Regions from separate parts of the Homo sapiens genome. Here all the other regions are linked to region 3. The links are contacts of gene promoters, found by promoter capture Hi-C in human tissues and cell types (Jung and others, 2019). All regions are on one chromosome and are shown on one strand. The core of a region is centred on a gene start or on the middle of the fragment in contact, and the rest is flanking DNA. Distances in the headings are between cores, read along the strand shown. Region 1 has its middle 10 kb from the start of VAV2. Region 2 overlaps BRD3 (bromodomain containing 3). Region 3 holds the start of SLC2A6 (solute carrier family 2 member 6). Region 4 has its middle 16 kb from the start of MIR548AW.

Region 1 (3,437 bases), core at 486-2,985, 520 kb before region 3:
AGTAAGCCCATGGGAGCTTGGACCATTCAGGGAAGTGAAGATGGCTATGGGAGGGACTTCCTAGCGTCACGGCAGGCGAGCATGGAGCTCTGAGCTAGGACCCTGGAGGAGACTGCATGGGCCCTGAGCCAGGGGAGGGTCAGCTGTCCTCAGCGCTGGGCATGCGGCCATCTCAGCGCCCTGGGTACCTGCTGTGCCCATTTCACACAGAGGCCAGAGGCCAGAGTTTTGACTCGCCTGCCCAGGGCCTCAGAGTGACTGGGTGGAGCCCCTACTTGGGGAAGCCCCTGGCTCTCCTACAGACAGCCCCGAGCATGTGTGAGAGGCTGGGGAGGCCAGACCTTGGGGTTCTTCTCAAGGGGTTCCCAGTCTCAGGAGGCCATTCCTACCGGCCTCTCCCATCCTGGATGTGCCACAGTCACCACTGGGGTCTGAGATCAACATCTCCAGCCTGAGCCCACCCGTGGGCCCCACAGAAGCTGCAATCAGACCTTCACATTCTCCCACGGGATGGAGCCAAGAAATTCACCATGGCCCTAGCAGCAAAACCCACTTCTTTGGAGCCAGGATGAGCCTGGTGACCCTGGGAGAACACTTGCCTTGGAGACCTCTGATAGGTTCAGCACAGTTGCCACACAGCATCAACATGAAGCTTGGGGTGTGTGGTGGGATGGGAGGGGGCTCAGGGCATCTGCAGGTGTCTAACTCTGCTCAGAAACAACACAGCACCCTCTAGGACCCCTGGGACCTCCCTAGCAGACAAGAGGCCAGGGCAGCAGCCTCTGTTTCTCAGACACATCTGACACCTCCCTCCTGACACTGTGACAATCCTAGACTGGCTCTGCATCTCCCCAGGCCTTGCACAGGGTGGATGGATGGATGGATTGATGGATGGATGGATAAATGTACAGATGGATGGATGGATGGATGGATGGATGGATGGATAAATGTACGGATGGATGGATGGATGGATGGCTGGATACATGTACAGATGAATGGTGGATGGATGGTTGGGTAGGTGGATAGACACATGGGTGGATGGGTAGATGGGTGGATAAATGGGTGGATGAATGATGGATGGATGGATGAGTGGATGGGTAGAGGGTGGATGGATAGATGGAGGGCTGAGTGGATGGATGGGTGGGAGGATGGAATGGTGGATGGGTGGATGGGTGGATGGGTGGATGGATGGATGGATGGAGGGATGGGTGGATGGGTGGATGGGTGGATGGGTGCGTTGGTGGGTGGATGGGTGGATGGATGGGTGGATGGGTGGGTGGATGGGTGGGTGGATGGATGGGTGGATGGATGGGAGAATGAACTCATGCTGGTGTCTAACTCTCATCAGTTGTGCTCAGAAACAACACAGCACCCTCTGGGACCCCTGAGACCTCCCCAGGAGGCAAGGGGCCACGGTGGCAGCCTCTGTTGCCCAGAGACATGCTAGACCCTGTTCTGGGTGCTGGGAGGACAAAAAGGAGGTAAGCCCACAGGCCAAGCCCCCAGGCCAAGCCCCCAGGCCAAGCCCCCAGGAGCCCACCCCACACCCAGGCAGACATTGCAGGACCTCTAAGCAAGGTACAGAGGGCACTGGGGAGGCCAGGAGATGGTCCCTGAGGGAAGCGATGGCTGAGCTGGGTTTTAGGAGACATACACATTTCCTGGGGGACCAACCTCCCATGGGCCCACTGCTGGACAAAGCCAGACACAGCTTGGTGTGGAGAGAATTTCAAGAGCATGAGTATTGTAGGATTTGGGGTGGGTCTGGAGAGTGGCATAAATTAGACTGAGAGGGCTGTGAGGGGTGCAGAGGGCCTTGAGAATCATGCTTAGGAGGCTGGATGTGCTCAGAGGGTGGGGGACCCAAGACTGTTGTTTTGTTTTGAAATATAACAAACAGCTTTATTGAAATAGAAGTTGCATGCTGTACAATCCACCCACAATTCAGTGCACAATTCAGCGGTTCTTGGTATATTCACAGAGTTGTGCAGCCATCGCCACCATCAATTTTATAACATTTTCATCCCTCCCCAAACCCCTGTACCCATGAGCAGTCACTCCCCCTCCCCACCTCCTGGCACCTCGCAATCTACTTTCTGTTTCTCTGGATTTGCCTGTTCTGGACATTTCATAGAAATGGAATCATACAACGTGTAGCCTGTAGCCTTTGTGTCTGGCTTCTTTCACTGAACATAAAATTTCGAGCTGCATCCATGTTGTAGCATGGATCAGAAAACTTCATTCCTTTTTAAGGCTGAGTAATATTCCACCATATGTTTATCTGTGTTTTTTGTTTTTGTTTTCATTTCGCTCTTGTTGCCCAGGCTGGAGTGCAATGGCACGATCTCGGCTCACTGCAACCTCCGCCTCCCAGGTTCAAGCAATTCTTCTGCCTTAGCCTCCCAAGTAGCTAGGATTACAGGTGCCTGCCACCACACCTGGCTAGTTATCATTGGGTTTTTTTTGTGTGTATTTTTAGTAGAGATGGGGTTTTACCATGCTGGCCAGGCTGGTCTCGAACTCCTGACCTCAGGTGGTCCACCTGCTTCAGCCTCCCAAAGTGTTGGAATTACAGGTGAGAGCCACTGCATCCAGCCCCGTGTTTTGTTTTGTTGGACTTTTGGGTTGTTTCAGCATTTTGGCTGTTTTGAACAATGCCGCTATAAATATAGGTGTGTAGGGTTTTATGTAGACACAAAGGTGGGCTTTGAGCAACAGGGGGCACAATCAGATTTAAAGGGGTCATTCTTCCTGCAGGTGGGGATGGGGGTCAGATGGAGAAAAGAGCCCAGAAAGGCTTGGCCAACCCTTGGGGAAGTATCACCCACACTCTCTCCCCAGTTCCCAGCATATGCACATGCACACGTACACGTATGTGTGTACATCTGAGCAGTCTCCAAGGCCTGCTATTGTTGAGTGTCCCAGGGACAGGCAAAGCTGGCCCAGTTCTGAGCTGATGGAGGAGAAGAGTCTCTTTAGTAGCAATCCTTGCATTCTTGTATTGATATGGGGGGGTCAGCCTCAGCGCGGAACTCTTTACATCCCCGCTCTCCCAGAACCCCTATGGCCACGGGTGGGGCAGATCGCAATATGGCCACTCATGAGAGAGGAGACAGAAGCTCATGCTGGTGGGGCAGAACCAGGCTTCAGGCAGGTGGACCCAAGTCCAAGTTCAAGATATCAGTGGCCACCAGGCATGTGTGGCTTCTGAGCTCTTGAAATGAGGCTTGTCTGACTGAGGAACTGAATCTTTATCTAATTTGTTTTTTGTTTTTTGAGACAGGGCCTTGCTCTGTCTCCCAGGTGAAAGTGCAGTGGTGCAAACATTGCTTGCTGCAGCCTCGACCTCCCGGGCTCAAGCGATCCTCCCACCTCAGCCTCCTGAGTAGCTGGTACCACAGGTGTGTGCCACCATGCTTGGCTAATTAAAAAAAAAA
Region 2 (3,352 bases), core at 291-2,790, 580 kb before region 3:
GTCACTTTGGGCCATTCACCTGTTGGTGGTTTAAATTGTAAGTCTTCTGGCCACTCCTGATTGAGCTCGCAGTGGAGCCAGGACCTGTGCGTGTGGCTGGAGGCTCGGACCCTGTTGTGTCCGTGCTGTTGGCTGTCTGCGTCTCGCACCAGTCTGTGGCTGTTCCCTGAGAGTCAGTTCGCAGGCTGCCTCCTCACAGGGCCTTCGGAGCCTGGTGTTGGGAAGATGGGGCGTGGAACATGCCCCCGCCCCCCTCCTTGCCGCAGGCCCCCAAGGTACTGAGTTCGTCAGAAGTTAATCCGGTATTGTGGGAGACAACTTTTCCAGCCACTTGGAAAAGTGTCCCGCTGAGGGTGCAGTGATGTTCAGGAGTCGCCGGCTGGATCTTTCTGAGTGTGGCTTGATAACCAGCTGCAGCATTTTGCAAAGCACCCAGTGGACTCGGGTGTGATCTGCAGAGGCGGCTGCTGGCCAGGCCTGGAGTCTGGGGCAGAGGGAGTGCCCTCAGTGCACCTGTGAGGACCTGGGACTAAGAGTCGGTACCTGGGAGCTGTGGGACTCTGGGGCGGGACGGCCTTAGCCTCCGTGTGAGCACTGACCGAGATGAGGCACAGATGCATCTGTGTGAGGTGCCCGGCCCCTGCAGGAGTGCTGAGTATTGTAGCTATAACCTGTCATGTGGCAGAAGGAAGAATCTACTATAAGCGGCTGAGAGGATGCCCTCCCTGTGCCATGCGTCACTGGAGCCTTGGCCTGACAATCCCACAAGGAGCAAAATGTGCAAAGGGGCAGCTGTGTGAGCCTGCGGGTCCAGGGTGCCACCCGCCCCCATCTGCCCACACCACAGGACAGAGCCCTGGGTATGCTGACCAGGCCCTCGCTGGTACCAGGGGCTGGGTAGGAGGCAAGGGTCAAGCACGGTGGCTCCGTGGGCTGTGGACTCACAGACAGATGTGCTGCATGCCCACGCTTTGCTCTTAGCTCTGCCTCCGGTCTGTCCCGGCAACAGGCCTGGGGGCGTCCTGCAGTCCTCGGCATTTGTGGTTGGGGGTGAGCAGAGAACATAGACGAAATAACCAAGGGGATGGTCTGAGAGCTGCGGCCCTGCTGGCCCCTTGTCCTGGCTCGGCATGGCTGAGTGGGACAGCAGTGAGGCCAGGCCTGTCTCCTGGGGCCGGGGTGTTTTGTGAGTTTGGTTCTTGTCAGGCCGGCTGAGAGGAGATGGAGCAGACAGATGGATGCTAGGTGGGCCTGCCGCAGCTTTGTTTTAGGAAGTGCGGAGCACCAGGGCCTGACCCTGAGGCTGTGTCCCTCTAAGAGCACGGTGTCTCCTTCCCTCTAAAGGGCCAGGTGCTGTCCTCACTCACTGCCCCTCTGAAGAGAGTCCCCTGCCTGAGTCGTGGCTCTCCTGCCCTTCCCAGACCCGTGGGAGACCCTGACTACGTGGCGGTGGCCTGGGGTTGGGAGGGCCTGACCAGTGTCTGTGGGGCCAACTTCCTCGTTCCCAGCATGTGTGGAGGGTCGGGCCTCCTCACGCGCCTCATGAGGGTCCCACGGGGGTAGAGCGTCCTTTGAGTCCTCTCTATTCGAGGAGTGGGTAGAGAGGCGGGTAGGGACGGAGCTTGGAAGAGGTGACGGGTTGTGGCCAGAAGGCTGTGGGGGCGTCATGGCAGGAAGGGAAACCTTCAGAGAGGCCGCTCACCCAGGGCCGTGGGGCCATGGAGAAGCACAGGCCCTGGGTTCAGAAAGCAGGAGGCATATGAGGTCTTAGGTCTAGAAGGCACTGGTGGGTGCAGAGTGGGGAGAACTGTGGGGTGCAGGGGACAGTCACGGGAGAGGCAGCGCTGGCAGCTGCACCTGCCCAGCGTGTCTGGGGCCATGCCCCAGGATAGCCCCACCAGTCTGCTGAAGCGCCCCGGGACAGGGCTGGGCCTGTAGAGCCGGGCCCTCCAGGCGGCCAGGCAGCTGCAGGAGAGCAGGTGCGCTGTGCATGGGGGGCTCACAGCACTGGGCAGATTCCCCTGGGGAGTAGGCGCCAGGGCTGGCCGTGCCTGCTTGGGTGGGGCCCACGATGCCCAGCTGCCCTCCCCAGGGCTCCTCCAGGGCTACAGGGGGCCCCCAACCCCCGACTTCTCCCCTGGCTCCATAGAAGGAAGCAGTTGGCTCCGTCTGTCACTGAAGGCAGCCCTGCCCTGACAGATCCAGTTTCCCGAGTCCTGGAGGGTGGCCGCTGGTCACCACGTGGGCTGGGGAGGCCCCTCTGGCCGCCTGGGGACAGGTGCTAGGTTGGCCGGGTTAGATGGGGCTGTGGGGGCAGCAGGCTGGGATCCCTTCTCACAGACTCAGCTCCCTCCTGCCACAGCCGATCACAGCACTGCTCCCAGCATTATCCCGAGAATTCTGGGGCTGTGGGGTGTTGGCGGTGAGTCTGGCATGGATGTCCAGCTTTGTTCAAGCTGGCTCTGGCCTTCTCTGCCTGGGCGACGTTGTGCCCCTTCACCTCTGAGCGTCCCCTCCACTTATGGAAGATGGGGCTCATCTGACCCCCACTGACGCAGGACAGAGTCCAGGAGACGGGCTGGAGTGCCCCAGTGGGGGCCATCCAGTCAGGGACACAGGTACAGAGGCCCAGAGCTATGGAAATTCCAGGGCTGGAGACCCATGGGGAATGGGGAGCCCCTGGGAAAGGCCTCCCCTAGCTTCCTCCAGCACCCCCACCCTTGGTTCCAGTGCTCCTGTCTCCCACCCTTTAGCTGGCAGGTCTGGTTGAGCCCCTGCAGAGCTATGTAGCCCTGCCCCTCCCTGCCACTGCTCCTCCAGACTCATGCTATAGCTGGAATGGCCTTGGTAAGCTGTCCTCCCAACCCTGCCTGTTTGCTGAAAGCTGGGACTCCCCATCCCTGGACCCCAAATAAGGACTTTTTGCTCTGGGCCCAGGCCAGGCTGGAGATGCCCCCATGGTCCAGCCGCTGCCCCTTGGCTGGTTTGCCCCAGGGTGTGGCATTGGAGGCAGCACCCCTCTGTCCTCCCTCTGTGGAGTGCCTGAAGGCTAGGCTGCTGTGCTGCCCAGGCGACATGCCTGCTCCTGCCCCTCTGGGTCTCTGCTCCCCAAGAGGGCCATGGAATGGCAGGAGGGGTCAGGGAGACTGCTACTGGCATTTCTGGGTGTTTTCTTTGGTGGCAACTGGACAGATTCCCATTCCCTCCCTGTTTGTCCACAGCCCTGAAACAGCCCTGGACTCAGCATCTTTTCTGATGAATTCTGGGCTGGGCCAGCCTAAAGGGGGCTGAATTTCTGCTTTTCATTCAGGTCCTCCTGTGCCCTATGGAGAGGAAGGCAGAGTCCAGGGAC
Region 3 (3,347 bases), core at 691-3,190:
TATATCTTGATTGGGGGTGTTTGGGGTTATACAATTGTCAAAACTCATCAACCTATATTTAAAATGGATTCATTTTACTGTATATAAATTATAGCTTAACAAAGTTGATTTTTCTTGTATTTTATTTTTTCAAGAAGGCTCTCCCTCTGTCACCCAGGCTGGAGTGCTGTGGTGTGATCACAGCTCACCGCAGCCTCAAACTCCTGGGCTCAAGCAATCTTCCCACCTCTGCCTTCCGAGTAGCTGGGGCCACAGGCACTTGCCATCACACCTGGACAACTTTTTTAGCTTTTTGTAGAGACAGGGTCACTTTGTTGCCCAGGCTGGTGTCAGACTCCTGGCATCAAGCAATTCTCCTACCTTGGCCTCCTAAATGCTGGGATTACAGGCACACACCACTGCACCTGGCCTAAAGTTGATTTTAAAAGAAAAAAAATACATTTTAAAAAAAGAGAAGGCCGGGTGCGGTGACTCACGCCTGTAATCCCAGCACTTTGTGAGGCTGAAGCGGAAGGATCACAAGGTCAGGAGTTCAAGACCAAGCTGGCCAACATGGTGAAACCCCGTCTCCACTAAAAATACAAAAATTAGCCGGGCGTGGTGGCACATGCCTGTAATCCCAGCTACTTGGGAGGCTGAGGCAGGAGAATCGCTTGAACTCGGGAGGTGGAAGTTGCAGTAAGCTGAGATCGTGCCACTGCACTCCAGCCTGGCCAACAGAGCGAGACTCCGTCTCAAAAAAAAAAAAAAAAATACACATATAGATATGTAAAAATACATACACATATATATGTATATACGTATATATATGGCCACGAGGACTGTGCAGCCTGATCACCATACCAGGGTGTGCCTGAGTCCAAAGCCTATGATCTTGATGGCAAGAAAACGGTGACGTAAAGGGGCTGCACAGTTTAATGGGGGCCCCAATAGCAAATATGCAAAATAGGCACATGAGGAAAAGACTGGAAGAGGCTAAAACGCCATCAAGGTCAGGCTGACGGGAGATGGATGTGATTTTATTGTTCTATTATGGTTGTATTTCAATCATAATAAAAGGGAATTCTAACTTTTAAAAATGCTTTACCATGTTAATAGCTAAAATGGGAAATGACCCAAATACTCAGCAACAAAGGCTCCGTTTAAAAGCGTGTGTGGCACGTCCATCCAACAGAGCAGGGCGTGATTCCGTCCTCTTCCCGAAAAGGCCCAAAGGGAGAGGTGGAACTGCTGTGGGATTTTTTGAGGACGGTCTTCCCGGGAATTTTCCATTTCTGCTTTTCTTATTTTTCAATGTTATCTTACTACCTGGGTTACGTGTCACGAGCTCAGGTTATTTCTACCACCAGAGCCTGGGGTGGAGGATACAGACCTCGCCCACTGGAGCTGCCCACAGCGCCTCGCCGGCCCCTCCTGCCTCCTTCGTCCCGCACATCCGCTGCTGCCCTGACACACCCCGATTCCCTGGTGCCAGGGAGAGCCAGGGCAGAGGTGGCCCTGAGACGCCACGCGACGGGGAGGGCTAGAGCGTAAGGAGGAGCGAGGTGCGCATTCGCTGTGACCCTGGCGCTCGGCTTCGCCTCTCTGGGCCTCGGTTTCCACCCCGCGGGAGCGAGTACGACAGGGGCTGCGCGCATTGCCGCAGTCACGCCTGCAAGAGCCGGGCCGGGTGAGCCGCTTCCGGCGCTCCGCGGGGGCCCCGGACGATCCAGCAGGGGCTCCGCCCTGGGACCCCCATCCTGTCTTGGGGCGTGACCTTCGGGGGCGCACGCGGTGCCGGCCGCGCCCGGGGAAGCCGGGTCCGCATCCGAGCATCAGGACAGCCTGCGGCCGCCCCATTGGCCGGCGTGTCTCTGCAGGGCCGTCCCACAGCCAATAGCGGCCAAGGGGCGGAGCCTGGCCGGTGCCCTCGGAGCTGCTGGCCCCGGGCGGCTGCTCCAGTCTGAGCGCCCTCCGCTCGCCCCGAGAGAGACCCGGCCATGCAGGAGCCGCTGCTGGGAGCCGAGGGCCCGGACTACGACACCTTCCCCGAGAAGCCGCCCCCGTCGCCAGGGGACAGGGCGCGGGTCGGGTGAGAGTCGCTAGGTTGGGGGCTGCGGGTGGGGCCTGGGGGTGGCCCTGGTTCCCTCCAGCCGGCGGCAGGCTCCCGCCCTGGGCCTCCCCTGACCTAGTCGCCACCGAGGGGCCATCTGGCTCCCTCCTGTCCCAGACACGCTACTCCTATTTAAGGAACTGGTCCCCCTAAGGGAAGGAACGATCCACGAGAGTACCGGGCCCAGCCCCCCACTGCCACAGACAGTGAGACTGAGGCCCCAGCGAGCAGGGGTTCTGCCTGAGGTCACACAGCAAGCCTCCAGCCGCCGCCCTGGGGGCAGAACCAGAGCCTCCTCTTCCGGAGAAAAGGCCCCAGCACCAGAGGCTCAGCCACTGCGGATGAGCTAACAATGGCCTGGGAATTTCCCAGGGGAGCTGGGGCTCAGGCCCTGGGAACGTGAATGGCCTTGGACCCAGGCCTCCCTAGCACTGCCCGCTGAGCCGGGCAGCCACTGGGTTCAGAAAAGGCAATGGTCCCTGGAGGAGGGACTCAGAGACCCTGGTCTTTTTGTCCGCCACCATCACCAGGACCCTGCAGAACAAAAGGGTGTTCCTGGCCACCTTCGCCGCAGTGCTCGGCAATTTCAGCTTTGGGTATGCCCTGGTCTACACATCCCCTGTCATCCCAGCCCTGGAGCGCTCCTTGGATCCTGACCTGCATCTGACCAAATCCCAGGCATCCTGGTTTGGGGTAAGGACCATCCTCTGGAGGAGGGTGGGTGCAGGAAGGAGGGACCTGCTGAGCCTTATCTCCAGCTAGGAACCTCCCAAATTCTCCACCTTGGGGGTCCCTCCAGGGCCCTGGTCCCCCCTCCCCCAGCCATCCAGGCCACTAGTGGGTGGGGTAAAGCTACAGGATTCCTCTGAAATGAGGAACTGAAAGCCAGTGGAGAGGGTGAGGGAAGGAGCAGGTGGGGAGGTGGCTGTCAGGGTCTATACTAGGTGGGGCTGAGGCTTCCCCGGGTCCCCACACCCACAGTTGGCTGGATGGGGGCAAGGGTATCAGGTGTCAGTGGGGAGAGGCACTGGCTGGGGCAAGGAGAGTCCGCAGGACAGATTGTGGGCTGATGGAGAGGAAGATCCCAGAGTCCCAGAGTCTAAAATTATAATCTTAATAGCCTCATATGTAGAGTTGTTAACATAGTAGTTAAGATAAAAATTCCCAAGGTTTACTGAGCACTTCCTATGTGCCAGGCATGTGTTGGGCACTGAACGTTCATTGATTCTCAGGGCCAACGCCACGAGGTAGAACT
Region 4 (3,688 bases), core at 983-3,482, 520 kb after region 3:
CCAGCCTGGATGACAGCAAGACTCCATCTCAAGGGAAAATAATAATAACAATAATAATAATAATAATTTTTTTGAGACGGAATCTGTCTCTGTCGCCCAGACTGGAATGCATCTGGCGTGATTTTAGCTCACTGCAACCTCCGCCTCCCAGGTTCAAGAGATTATTCTGCCTTCGCCTCCTGGGTAGCTGGGACTACAAGTGCGTGCCACAACATGCCACTAATTTTTGTATTTTTAGTAGAGATGGGGTTTCACCACGTTGGCCAGGCTGGTCTTGAACTCTTGACCTCGTGATCTGCCCGCCTCAGCCTCCCAAAGTGCTGGGATTACAGGCATGAGCCACCACGCCTGACCAATAATATTTTTTTGAAATGAAAGTTCCCATATATGTAATACTGAACCCAGCCTACTAGTGTACAACATGTAAACAAAGAGAAAAAATAGATTCCTTTTTTTTTTTTTTTTTTTTTTTGAGATGGAGTCTCACTCTGTTGCCCAGGCTGGAGCGCAGTGGCGCCATATCAGCTCATTGCAACCTCTGTCTCCTGGGTTTAAGAGATTCTCCTGCCTCAGCCTCCCAATTAGCTGGGACTGCAGGCTGGTGCCACCACGCCTGGCTATTTTTTTTTTTTTTTTTGTATTTTTAGTAGAGATGGGTTTTCACCACGTTGGCTAGGCTGGCCTCAAACTCCTGACCTCAAGTGATCCACCCGCCTTGGCCTCCCAAATTAGTGGGATTACAGGCGTGAGCCATTGCGCCTTGTCAAAAATGTATTCCTAATAAAACATGTCAAACTGTCCAGATATGGTGACATTTTCAGCTTGATATGGTGATGATGGTGACCTTGATAGAACATAATATGTGTGTCATCTCATGTGTAATTCCTTATAGACCCAGCTTGGTTCTTCTTCAATATCTCCTTTTGGAGTTGTACCTAATTTGATTACCAGTTTTCATCTGATTCCACTGGGAAATGGGATGATTTTTGCTTTTGTTTCTTGGCCAGGAATCACTTAATCCTCAAAGTCTTGTGAGAAGACATGGCGAGAAGCAGAGTCAAACACACACCACGATAGCAGAGAAGGGAAGAGAGAGAGAAGAAAGAATCTTTTATGGGCCAGGAGAGGAGGCTCACACTTGTAATCCCGCACTCTGGAAGGCTGAGGTGAGCGGATCACCTGAGGTCAGGAGTTTGAGACCAGCCTGGCTAACATGGTGAAACCCTGTCTCCACTAAAAATACAAATAATTAGCCAGGCATGGTGGCTCGCATCTGTGGCCCCAGCTACTTGGGAGGCTTAGCCACGAGAACTGCTTGAACTCAGGAGGTGGAGGTTGCAGAAAGCTGAGATGGTACCACTGTACTCCAGCCTGTGTGACAGAGTGAGATTCTGTCTCAAAAGAAAAAAAAAAAAAGAAAAAAAAAACAATTCTGTATGCACACATGTGTGAGTGTAGGGTTGTGTGTGTGTGTGTGTGTGTGTGTAGAGTGTAGGTGTGTAGGGAAGATGCATAGCAAAGAAAGAATGCACACATTATGGCCTTAGATATGGCCAAATTCCTGTCTAGAGAGGGTGTGCAGTCCTGTCCTCCCACTCCCAGAAGTGTAGATTTGTTCCCACAGCCTTGCCAGCAAGGTGGGTTGTCAAATTTGGGGAATTTTGGCCGGGTGCGGTGGCTCTCACCTGTAATCCCAGCACTTTGGGAGGCTGAGGCAGGCAGATCACGAGGTCAGGAGATCGAGACCATCCTGGCTAACATGGTGAAACCCTGTCTCTATTAAAAACACAAAAAATTGGCCAGGTGTGGTGGCGGGCACCTGTAGTCCCAGCTACTGGGGAGGCTGAGGCAGGAGGATGGCGTGAACCCGGGAGGCAGAGCTTGCAGTGAGCCAAGATTGCACCACTGCACTCCAGCCTGGGCGACAGAGCGAGACTCCGTCTCAAAAAAAAAAAAAAAAAATGAGAGGTATTTTGCCAATCTGATAGGACAGGAGGAAGGGCATCCCAGGGTAGTTTTAATTTGTGTTTCCTTTATGTTGAGTGAGGCTGTCTTTTCATACTTCTTAGGGTCACTTACATTTTTCTGAAAACTTTCCATTTATGCCTTTTTTCTGTTGTTTTTTTTTTTTGTCAAATAATTGACTTTTCACAATTAAGACTGTGATATAATAGTTCTGTGTATATTAGAGAGGCCGTTTGTGATATAAGTTGCAAAAGTTTTCTCTCCGTCTATCATTTATCTTCTGACTTTGCTCTGCTTGCTTTCTTCTTACCATGGAAAAGGTTTTTGTTTTGTTTTGTTTTGCTTTGGTTTTTTGAGGTCGCCTAACTTATCGGTCTTCTATTGTTTCTGACTGTTCAGCCATTTTTAGAAAGGTTTTCTTCACTCCTGATTACACAGAATTCACTCATGTTTTCTTCTTGCACTCGTATGATTTCACTTTTGACACTTAAAGTTTATTCTGGTGTAGGGTGTGGAGAGGGATCTAACTTTATCTTTTTCCAAATGGTCACTGCATATGCTTCAGGGGAGGCGCAGCTAAAATAAAACCTCTAGCTGTGAATGCTGCTGCTTGGGGGACTGAGAAATGGTCTCACGGTGACCATGAAACTCTTTAACATCCAACACGCTGCGGAGTGTGGCCCGGCACAATTTATTGCTGGGGGTGTGTAGAGGCGTGATCAGGGATTTGAGAGAGGAGGTGGCCTACCCAAGAAGACAAAACACCCAGAATTTTAAATTTTAATTGAGCCAGGCTCGGTGGCTCATGCTTGTAACCCTAATGTTTTGGGAGACTGAGGTGGGAGGATCTCTTGAGACCAGGACTTCGAAACCAGCCTGGGAAACATAGTTAGGCCCAATCTCTAAAAAAATAAAAATAAAAAAAGTATCCGGGTGTAGTGGTACATGCCCATATTCCCAGCTCTTTGGGAGGCTGAGTTGGGAGGACCACTTGAGCCCAGGAGCTCGAGGCTGTAGTGAGCTATGATCGCACCACTGTACTCCAAGCAGGGACAAAGCGAGATCCTGTCTCAATAAATACATAAATAAATAAAATTGGCAGGCATCAATGTCAAGATGAAGCCTTTGACAACATTCCACAGACAGCTCTTTCCTTCTTTCCTGAACTCACAAACTTCCAGGGGTTCTGCGTTGCCTACAGATATAGCCCAGGCTGCTTATTTAGCCCAGGGTCCTTCATACATGACTTTTCTTGCCTCCTATTCCCTACACCTGACCATTTATAAAGCAAGCAAGCCTTCTGTGGTCTTGCTTCCCTGCTTCTGCTCAAGCTGGGTCCTACTGTCGTAAAGCCCATCTGCTCCATCACCATTGATCAAATTCTTGATGAAACCAGAAGCAAAGTTCAAGTCTCACCCTCACCAGTAAGTTGCCCTCATCACTCTAATTTTGACGTCTTTCTCCTGCAGCACTTTGTAGGGTGGTTCTGGGCTGGACCTGGCCTTGAGCAGAGTAGGATCAGTCTTTCCCATGTCATCTGCTGGGTCCATGCTCCTTGCCAGCAGGTATAGGGGACTGAATTATCTCCTCATCCCAATTCATGTCTACCTGGAACCGCAGAACGTGACTTTATTTGGAAAGGGAGTCTTTGAAGATGAAGTTCGGTTCAGCTGAATTCACACTGGGTTGAGGTGGGCTTTAAATACAATGCCTGGGGTCTCAT

The links. Contacts are between HindIII fragments. The study calls those that stand out against the background at their distance.
Region 1: a contact is called between a fragment that was not itself captured here and the fragment with the promoter of SLC2A6 in region 3, in 1 of the 25 tissues and cell types used here (dorsolateral prefrontal cortex).
Region 2: a contact is called between a fragment that was not itself captured here and the fragment with the promoter of SLC2A6 in region 3, in 2 of the 25 tissues and cell types used here (dorsolateral prefrontal cortex and spleen).
Region 4: a contact is called between a fragment that was not itself captured here and the fragment with the promoter of SLC2A6 in region 3, in 1 of the 25 tissues and cell types used here (spleen).

What each region holds. Positions count from the first base shown.
Region 1 is chr9:134,001,048-134,004,484 of GRCh38, reverse strand. No RefSeq gene overlaps it. Among named protein-coding and RNA genes, the nearest start is that of VAV2, 10 kb to the right of the region's middle. The HindIII fragment of the contact is 4,029 bases long and covers 1-3,437 here.
Region 2 is chr9:134,060,871-134,064,222 of GRCh38, reverse strand. All of the region lies in intron 1 of BRD3 (bromodomain containing 3), which reads left to right. Among named protein-coding and RNA genes, the nearest start is that of BRD3, 5.5 kb to the left of the region's middle. RefSeq lists an enhancer at 723-1,634. The HindIII fragment of the contact is 7,576 bases long and covers 1-3,352 here.
Region 3 is chr9:133,477,692-133,481,038 of GRCh38, reverse strand. SLC2A6 (solute carrier family 2 member 6) reads left to right here and starts at 1,940. Exons shown (of 10, transcript NM_017585.4): 1 at 1,940-2,071; 2 at 2,623-2,785. The coding sequence starts at 1,980. RefSeq lists enhancers at 1,429-1,930, 2,351-2,410 and a silencer at 1,541-2,190. The HindIII fragment of the contact is 12,347 bases long and covers 1-3,347 here.
Region 4 is chr9:132,959,866-132,963,553 of GRCh38, reverse strand. It overlaps a transcript of GFI1B not described here and the pseudogene RPL39P24. Among named protein-coding and RNA genes, the nearest start is that of MIR548AW, 16 kb to the right of the region's middle. The HindIII fragment of the contact is 7,856 bases long and covers 1-3,688 here.